Regions from separate parts of the Homo sapiens genome. Here region 2 is linked to region 1. The links are contacts of gene promoters, found by promoter capture Hi-C in blood cells and fetal thymus (Javierre and others, 2016). All regions are on one chromosome and are shown on one strand. Each heading gives the region's core, a stretch centred on a gene start or on the middle of the fragment in contact. The rest is flanking DNA. Distances are from core to core; before and after follow the strand shown. Region 1 holds the start of KCNE5 (potassium voltage-gated channel subfamily E regulatory subunit 5). Region 2 overlaps TMEM164 (transmembrane protein 164).

Region 1 (4,057 bases), core at 1,033-3,532:
CCTCTAACTTTACCCATCATTGGTTAAGATTGCTCAGTTCAAGAATTTTCTCTTTGACTTCAGATTTACACTATTTGGTGGCTTCCTTGTCTTTTAATAAGCCACTTCAAAAAAGTTATTGGCTAGGTGCAGTGGCTCACACCTGTAATCCCAGCACTTTGGGAGGCCGAGACAGGCGGATCACTTGAGGTCAGGAGTTTGAGAACCTCCTGGCCAACATGGTGAAACCCCCCGTCTCTACTAAAAATACAAAAATTAACTGGGCATGATGGGGCACATCTGTAATCCCAGCTACTCAGGAGGCTACTTGGGAGGCTGAGGCAGGAGAATCGCTTGAACCCAGGAGGCAGAGGCTTCAGTAAGCCTTGATTGTGCCACTGTACTCCAGCCTGGGTGACACAGTGAGACTCTGTCTCAAAAAAAGTAAAATAAAAACAATTATTAAGGTGGCTTCTAAAAATTAGGTTTGATAATAGCTAAAAGGGATGGGCCTTAAAGGTTTTTTAAAGTGCATCCTGAAAGACTGCATTGTGATCTTTGAAAGTGCTTCAGAAATAAGAAAAAAGGAGGGATAAGTAATAAAGTAGGTATAACTTTTGAAACACTTGAAAAAACAACCCATTTAGCCATATAAACATTTTCTTCACCCATAATCACACATATCAAATTGGAACTGGTTACATAGATATAAATATCACAACCACCCAACCCCCAAATCCAAACATCATTTCCAAAAGCAAAAGAAAAAGGATTCCTTCTCCATATGGTACTGGGTCTTAAGGCTGGAATCTCTGAGAGAAGAGTCTTGCGTTATTGTTTAAACAACCTTTATTACCTGCCTCTGACATTCCCCAGGGTTACAGAGCAGGGGGCATCTGAGCCTCAAGTTCCACGGATGAAGCAGACACTGCAATAACAACTGAATCAATAGAGGAGAGGCATTTGGAAGTACTGGGGTGATACACCCAGTAATGGTAATCCTCAGCAGAAGATGGCATAGCTACCAAAAATCAGGCGTTACCACTGGGATGAAAACTGGGGAGGCAAGAAAATCATACGGTTGGAGTCATAGATCATTTCCCTCCCCGTTGAGCACTCCTCCCCCTTCCGTCCCCCATTAAGTTCATTCTATCCCACAGACTGGTCCTAGTGTCCTGCTAGCTCCCTGCTGAAAGAGAGAGGGAGGGAAAAGATGTCTGAGGTCTCTTCATTTCCTTTGTCTCTGTCCCTAAGGCAACTGGAAGCTGGAGCTGCTGCAGTCGGCCTGGCAAGCCCGTTGGCTCTGCAGAGTGAGCAGTCCCTGGCAGCCCCTGGAGCAGCTGCCAGTTAGACGGCCCAGAGTTCTGATAGAATGCATTGCTTCAGTTCAGTGCCAAGTGTTGGACGTGTTGGATTCAGTTCCCAGAGGGCTGGAGCGTGCTGTCAGGGCTGTCTGAAGACAAGAGAGCAGAGGCAGTTTAGTGCAGTTGGATGTGCGGGGTAGGGGTGGAGGCGCAGGGGTGAAGAGGGAGAAACTGGCCCGAATGGGTAAGGTGGTGCTTCTCCTTCCAGGGCCTTCCAGACAAGGTCTCCTGGCCTCTCACCATTATCTGGGCCTCAGATGAGGCGAACCCTGGAAGGGAGTTGGGGGTGGAAGGTGGGAGGCGCGCCCAGGGATGAGCGAGATGAGGAGGGCGCGAACCAGCAATCTGGGGCTGTGGTTTTAGACCCGCTCAGCGCCCTGGGCGAGGGCAGGCAGCCCCTCGGAGGCAAGCTGGCGGCGGCCCTCGGCCTGGGAGCCCGCGGCAGCCTCGGCGTCGGCGGTCAGGGCGCCTCCCGGGGCCCATTCGTGCTCGGCGCAAGCCTGGGACGGCTCGTCCTTGGCCTCGACGAGCTTACGGGAGCGGGTGTAGGCCAGGATGAGGCCTCCGGCCAAGCAGGCGTAGAAGATCATGATGAGCAGGATGTAGAGATAGGCGTCGTCGCCCTTGGCGCTGGTCACCTCGCGGCCCACGAAAGGGTCAGGCACGACCCCCATGCCCATGCTGGGACGAGGGCCAGCGCCCAAGCCGCTGGCATTACCCCGGTGGTGCAGCTCGAGCAACAGGCGGCTCAGAAGGGTTCGCAGCCGCTGGCTCTCGCTGCAGTTCATGGCTTTCGGGGAGTGACACGGCGGCTCCAGGACGCTGCTGACCTTTCCCCCTGGGCGAGGGGAAGCGAGCTAGCGAGCGGGCCGGCCGGCGGGCAGGGCTCAGCAGCGGAAACAGCGGTAGCACCCAGCTCTCCGGCGAGCGCGCAGTGGCTGGGGGCGCCGACGGCGGGGCCTCCTTATTCCCTCACTCCCGCCCCTCCTCCCCTTCCCCACCACGCCCCCTCCGGCCCGCGGCCGCCTCTTCCCAGGCTCTGGCTGTCTCGCTGCTCCAGGGAAAGGGGACAGCTGGTGGGGGGAGGAGAAGGGGACAAGAGTGGGGGCGAGGCTGGGAGACGGGCGGAGGGGGCGGGGGCTCGGAATGCGCGAGGCCCCAGGCAGCAGACGCTGGCAGGGCAGCTTGCTGGGGCCAAGCCTGGACCCTGGGCTGCGGAAGAGAATTCCTTCCAAGTTCTGGCCACCTGCCCTGCAGGCCAGGCTTTGGCCCAGATACAGCATTTGGCCCCCTAAGGCAGCTCTGCCTTGGGGCGCTCAAGGGAGAGGGCAGACGCCTTTCCGCAGCAGAGACCCCTTGTCCACATTTTATGGAAGTTACTCCCATATACAGGGACCCAGGCCTATCTTTCTAGTCCTCATTCCTTTCCTTTTCCCCCCGCCCCCCTTTTCACCCCCCTCCCACCTTGTCGGAGGAGAGCATCTTATTCAGAAGATGCTCAGGCTGAATTTGGTGACTGAGTGCTCAGGCACCTGCTAGAAGGCCAAGGCAGAGTAGAACTCCCTGGTTATCCAAAATGGTTTCTGGTGATATAAGTGATATTACACCTTCTTGGAAGCACCCCTGCTCTGATGTCCTATGACACTTTTTGAAAAGTCAACACATCTTAGCACATGAATGTACTATTCATAATGGGAGCCTGTTTCCCATGGGTAAGTAAGCCATCTTCCCAGAAGTGAAACCAAGTTCTTCCAATAAGAGTAGCATGCACATTTTAAAAGGCCCTTTGACTACACTCTGTGGATATCTCGGGATCTGAAAAGTGCCAGTTCTAGAGAATATGCTCACCCTACTCCCAGTTAGGCCAGCAAACAGCTGTGTGCCTCTCTAGACTTGGTAACAGGTCTAGGCCCTAATGGCTTTTAGGGCAGCCATTTTTTTCTCAAAGGCTGTCTTTTTTTAGGGGAAAACAAGGCACCAAGACAAAGATCAGGCCAGATATGTTAAATTGGAAACAGACTGAGCTTCACAAAGGAAAAGGGTTGGTTTGTAGATGGTGGGGTAGAAAAAATGAGGTAGTGCTGGCTAGGTCTGGTTGTCCATAGTTGCCAAATGAGAGCAGAAAGCAAGAAAAGTGTATGACCTTAGGCACACCTTGAAAATAATGCTGCCTGTTCAAGACCGTTCAGTCCAGGGACCATTCAATCTATAGGTGCCATGGGTTAAAAAAGGAAGGTTTTCCGATGCCTCTTCCCCAACCGTTCTTCAGCCCACCATCCACCCAGGGGCTGTAGCCTTCTGTGTGTTCAGGTGAGGTTGGCACCAAACTGTATCCAGGGTCTCAAACAGAGCCTTGCTTCACAGCCTCTAAACAGGCCTCAGAGACATTCCACATGACCCTGACACTGGCTCCCTTCTAATCACCTTGCCTCAATATTCTCACCTCAGAGGGCCTCAGGAAAGAATTGTTAAAGCAACTTGGCAGGATGAATGCCAGAGGACACAGCCAGAGAATTTTCAAAGCACTGCTAACCTAGTGATATGACTGTTGAGCTAAAAAGACTTCTCTTATCTGTTAAAACAGGAGTCCCCAACCTCCCAGGCTGCTGGACCTTGGCCTGTTAGGAACCAGCCGCACAGAAAGAGGTGAGCAGAGGGCAAGTGAGCATTATCGCCTGAGCTACACCTCCTGTCAGATCAGCAGTGGCATTAGA
Region 2 (3,820 bases), core at 1,109-3,608, 410 kb after region 1:
GTTTTAGGCTTTGTGAACCATGCTGTGTCTGCCACAACTACTCAACTCTGCTATTGAAGCACAAAAGCAGCTACAGATAATGCCAGTATGTGAGTGAATGTGTGTGGCAGTGTTCTACTAAAACTATATACAAATCAGTCAGTGGGCCACGTTTGGTTCGCGGGTTATTGTTTGCTGAACACTGCTATAGAAAATAAAACTAGTTCAACCATTGTGGAAGTCAGTGTGGCGATTCCTCAGGGATCTAGAACTAGAAATACCATTTGACCCAGCCATCCCATTACTGGGTATATACCCAAAGGACTATAAATCATGCTGCTATAAAGACACATGCACACGTATGTTTATTGCGGCACTATTCACAATAGCAAAGACTTGGAACCAACCCAAATGTCCAACAATGATAGACTGGATTAAGAAAATGTGGCACATATACACCATGGAATACTATGTAGCCATAAAAAATGATGAGTTCATGTCCTTTGTAGGGACATGGATGAAATTGGAAATCATCATTCTCAGTAAACTATCGCAAGAACAAAAAACCAAACACCGCATATTCTCACTCATTGGTGGGAATTGAACAATGAGAACACATGAACACAGGAAGGGGAACATCACACTCTGGGGACTGTTGTGGGGTGGGGGGAGGGGGGAGGGATAGCATTAGTAGATATACCTAATGCTAAATGACGAGTTAATGGGTGCAGCACACCAGCATGGCACATGTATACATATGTAACTAACATGCACGTTGTGCACATGTACCCTAAAACTTAAAGTATAATAATAATAAAATAAAATTAAAAAAAGAAATGAAAAAAATAAATAAAAATCACTCATAGTCTTGCCACAAAAATGTTAACATTTTTGCTTATTCTCCTTCTTCTCTTCACATTATTTTACATGCTTGTGTCTATACTGTATATTGCCAATTTTATACCTGATTTTTTTCACTAAGCATCCTCATAAACGTTTCCTGTGTTATTTAAAACTTGTTGGCATAACTCTTAATGCCTATGTGGTACTCCATCCTGTATGTAACTGGATCATAATTTACCTAGCCATTTCCTTTTTTTTTTTTTAGGGGGGATGGATTCTTGCTCTGTCACCCAGGCTGGAGTGCAGTGGCACGATCTCAGCTCACTGCAACCTCTGCTTCCCAGGTTCAAGCAATTCTTGTGCCTCAGCCTCCCAAGTAGCTGGGACTACAGGCTACCATCACCGCGGCCAGCTAATTTTTGTATTTTTTAGTAGAGATGGGGTTTTACCATGTTGTCCAGGCTGGTCTCGAACTCCTGATCTCAAGTGATCCGCCCACTTCGGCCTCCCAATGTGCTCCTATTTTTTTTTTTTTGCAGTTATAAACTTTAAAAAGTTTACTCTTGTACAAATCTTTGTGTTTCACATTATTTTGTAGGTCACTTTCCTTGAAGTGGAGTTACCAGGACAGGGGTATGGATGTTTTTAAGGAGCTTAATATCTCTTTTTTTGTTGTTTTTTTTTAAAAAAGGTAGTGCTTATGTACATTCCTACTAGCAGTGGGGACAGAGAGAGCCTCTTCCAACTCATCCTCACCAACATCAGATATTGTCACTAAAGCAAAATCTTTTTTTTAAAGCAAATTTTAAAAAAATGGCATCTAAGTTAATGTGTAATTCTTTGTTAAGGTGATTGGAGAAAAAGTTTCAAATGATTGTTGAATGATGAATGGGATCACATAGTTCTTCTTTGGCTCAGTTTTTCATAAATGTACCTTGGGCCCTAACTTGCTTCTCCTTTTCCTCATGCAGTTACCCCCTTTCATCTTTCTGGCTCCTTCTGTTAAAATTCTACTTATTCTTTAGGGCTCAATCCTATCTGTATTCATGTACCTGTCTGTGGAGTCCTCCCTAGTTCCTCCTACTCGATATGATCTCTTGCCTTTGAATCCCTGTAGCACTGTGTACCTCTCTTGTGGTATTTATGTCTTTCTGCCCCTTTTTTTGGTTATCTCTGTACTGGCTTTATGCCTATGGCATGGACACTGGGTAATGTTATCTTTGCATTGACTCCCAGAGCCTAGTAGAGAGCTTAGTGTACAATGGGCTGATTAGCCTATCAGAGCTATGTTGAAAGGTGCCTAAGGTCTGCTGCAGATGACCTTTCAAAATATTCGATGTTGCAATTACCTGTGATGTTTACAGAACGGATTGGGATCACTGATAAGAGATGCTTTGCTGGTTACTTAAGATGGGCTGTATCTATAAGTCCTAGTCACTCTTTTTTGTGAAATTTGAATCATCAAATTTTCCAAGTAGTGATAAAAAACAATTTTAGCATATGTTAGGCTATTCTCTTGTGTATCTGGTAGAAGTTTATGTGATGATGGAAATGTTTTATATCTGCACTGTCTGATATGGTAGTCAGTGGCCACATGTGGCTATTGTGCACTGTATATGTGGTTACTGCAAATGAGGAACTGATTTTTTTTTTCATTTTACTAATTTTAAATACTTTAAATAGCCACATGTAGCTAGTGGTAACCATATGGGACAGTGCAGGATAATGTAGAATATTTAAAGTTATGGTCTCTTTTTTATGGCCAAAAGAAGCTGGGTATGTATAGTGACCCACAGTAACATTGACATTGTAGTTTTCTGGAATTTTGGAGAGGCAGTCTAGACCCTGGTAGAGCCGTAGAGAGAGAGAGAGAGAGGGGAAGCCATAAGTTTGGTTCAAAATGGAAACTGATTCCAGCGGGAGGTGTATGTTGTGAGAAAAGGGAGATGATGCCAGATTGGTAGGATAAAGGCAGAGTACAATAAGCTGGAATACCTAGAGGAGACATATGGACATGATACGATTGGTGATAGGGAACCATTAAAGATTCATGAAAAGAGGAGTGATAGATGAGTGTGGTGTTGCAAGGTCACCTTTGCCAGGCGTATGAAGCTGCTGGGAAAGGATGTGAGTTATTGGCCCCTCCTTCAGTGGATAGGGTTGGGCAGTAGTGATTCACAAACTCCATCAAAACCCAGCCACATCAGAAAACACAAATGATTTATTTTTGCATTAGCTTCCAGTTATTGTGTGCCTTCCTGTGGTTCAGATATACACCACCATATATTGTGGAGGGCTTGTAGCTGGGGGGCTGTGGAGAATGGCCGCCTATGTGACAGGAGGCAGGCCAGTCACCTCTGCTTAGCCACAGGCAAAATTGCCATCTGTGACCCTGGTACCTTGAAAGGTGTGTCTTGAATGGCTCTTTGACTCTTCAGAAACAATCTGGGAGCCCATTCATTCTGTTCTCACTTGCCTGCTTCCTTTAAGGGCCGATAGCAAATTTCTAATTTTACTGTTAGGAGAATATTTTCAATCTCATTTTTTAACCTTTAAATTAAGTTGAACCTTTCAATTAAGTTGAATTAATATTTCTTCCCACTACCTACTCCTTACTGCCCTCACTCCGTCCTTTATTAGATTGCTTATATTTCCATAACTGCATCGTGACCTTAGCACATGGACTTAATCATTAACTATCGTATTCCTAAAGAACAGCCTTTGGACTCATTTTTTTTTTTTTTTTTTTTTTTTGAGACGGAGTCTCGCTCTGTCGCCCAGGCTGGAGTGCAGTGGCAGGATCTCGGCTCACTGCAAGCTCCGCCTCCCGGGTTCACGCCATTCTCCTGCCTCAGCCTCCCAAGTAGCTGGGACTACAGGCGCCCGCCACTACGCCCGGCTAATTTTTTGTATTTTTAGTAGAGAACGGGGTTTCACCGTTTTAGCCGGGATGGTCTCGATCTCCTGACCTCGTGATCCGCCCGCCTCGGCCTCCCAA

What was found. The method cuts DNA at HindIII sites, captures the fragments that hold promoters and counts their contacts. A CHiCAGO score of 5 or more calls a contact.
Region 2: a contact is called between a fragment that was not itself captured here and the fragment with the promoter of KCNE5 in region 1, in 1 of 17 cell types (neutrophils). The highest score is 5.4, in neutrophils.

Annotation. Positions count from the first base shown.
Region 1 is chrX:109,622,890-109,626,946 of GRCh38, forward strand. KCNE5 (potassium voltage-gated channel subfamily E regulatory subunit 5) reads right to left here and starts at 2,283. Exons shown (of 1, transcript NM_012282.4): 1 at 811-2,283. The coding sequence starts at 2,131. The coding sequence ends at 1,703. The HindIII fragment of the contact is 6,764 bases long and covers 1-4,057 here.
Region 2 is chrX:110,034,433-110,038,252 of GRCh38, forward strand. The region is part of intron 2 of TMEM164 (transmembrane protein 164); the gene reads left to right. Among named protein-coding and RNA genes, the nearest start is that of MIR652, 19 kb to the right of the region's middle. The HindIII fragment of the contact is 5,858 bases long and covers 1-3,820 here.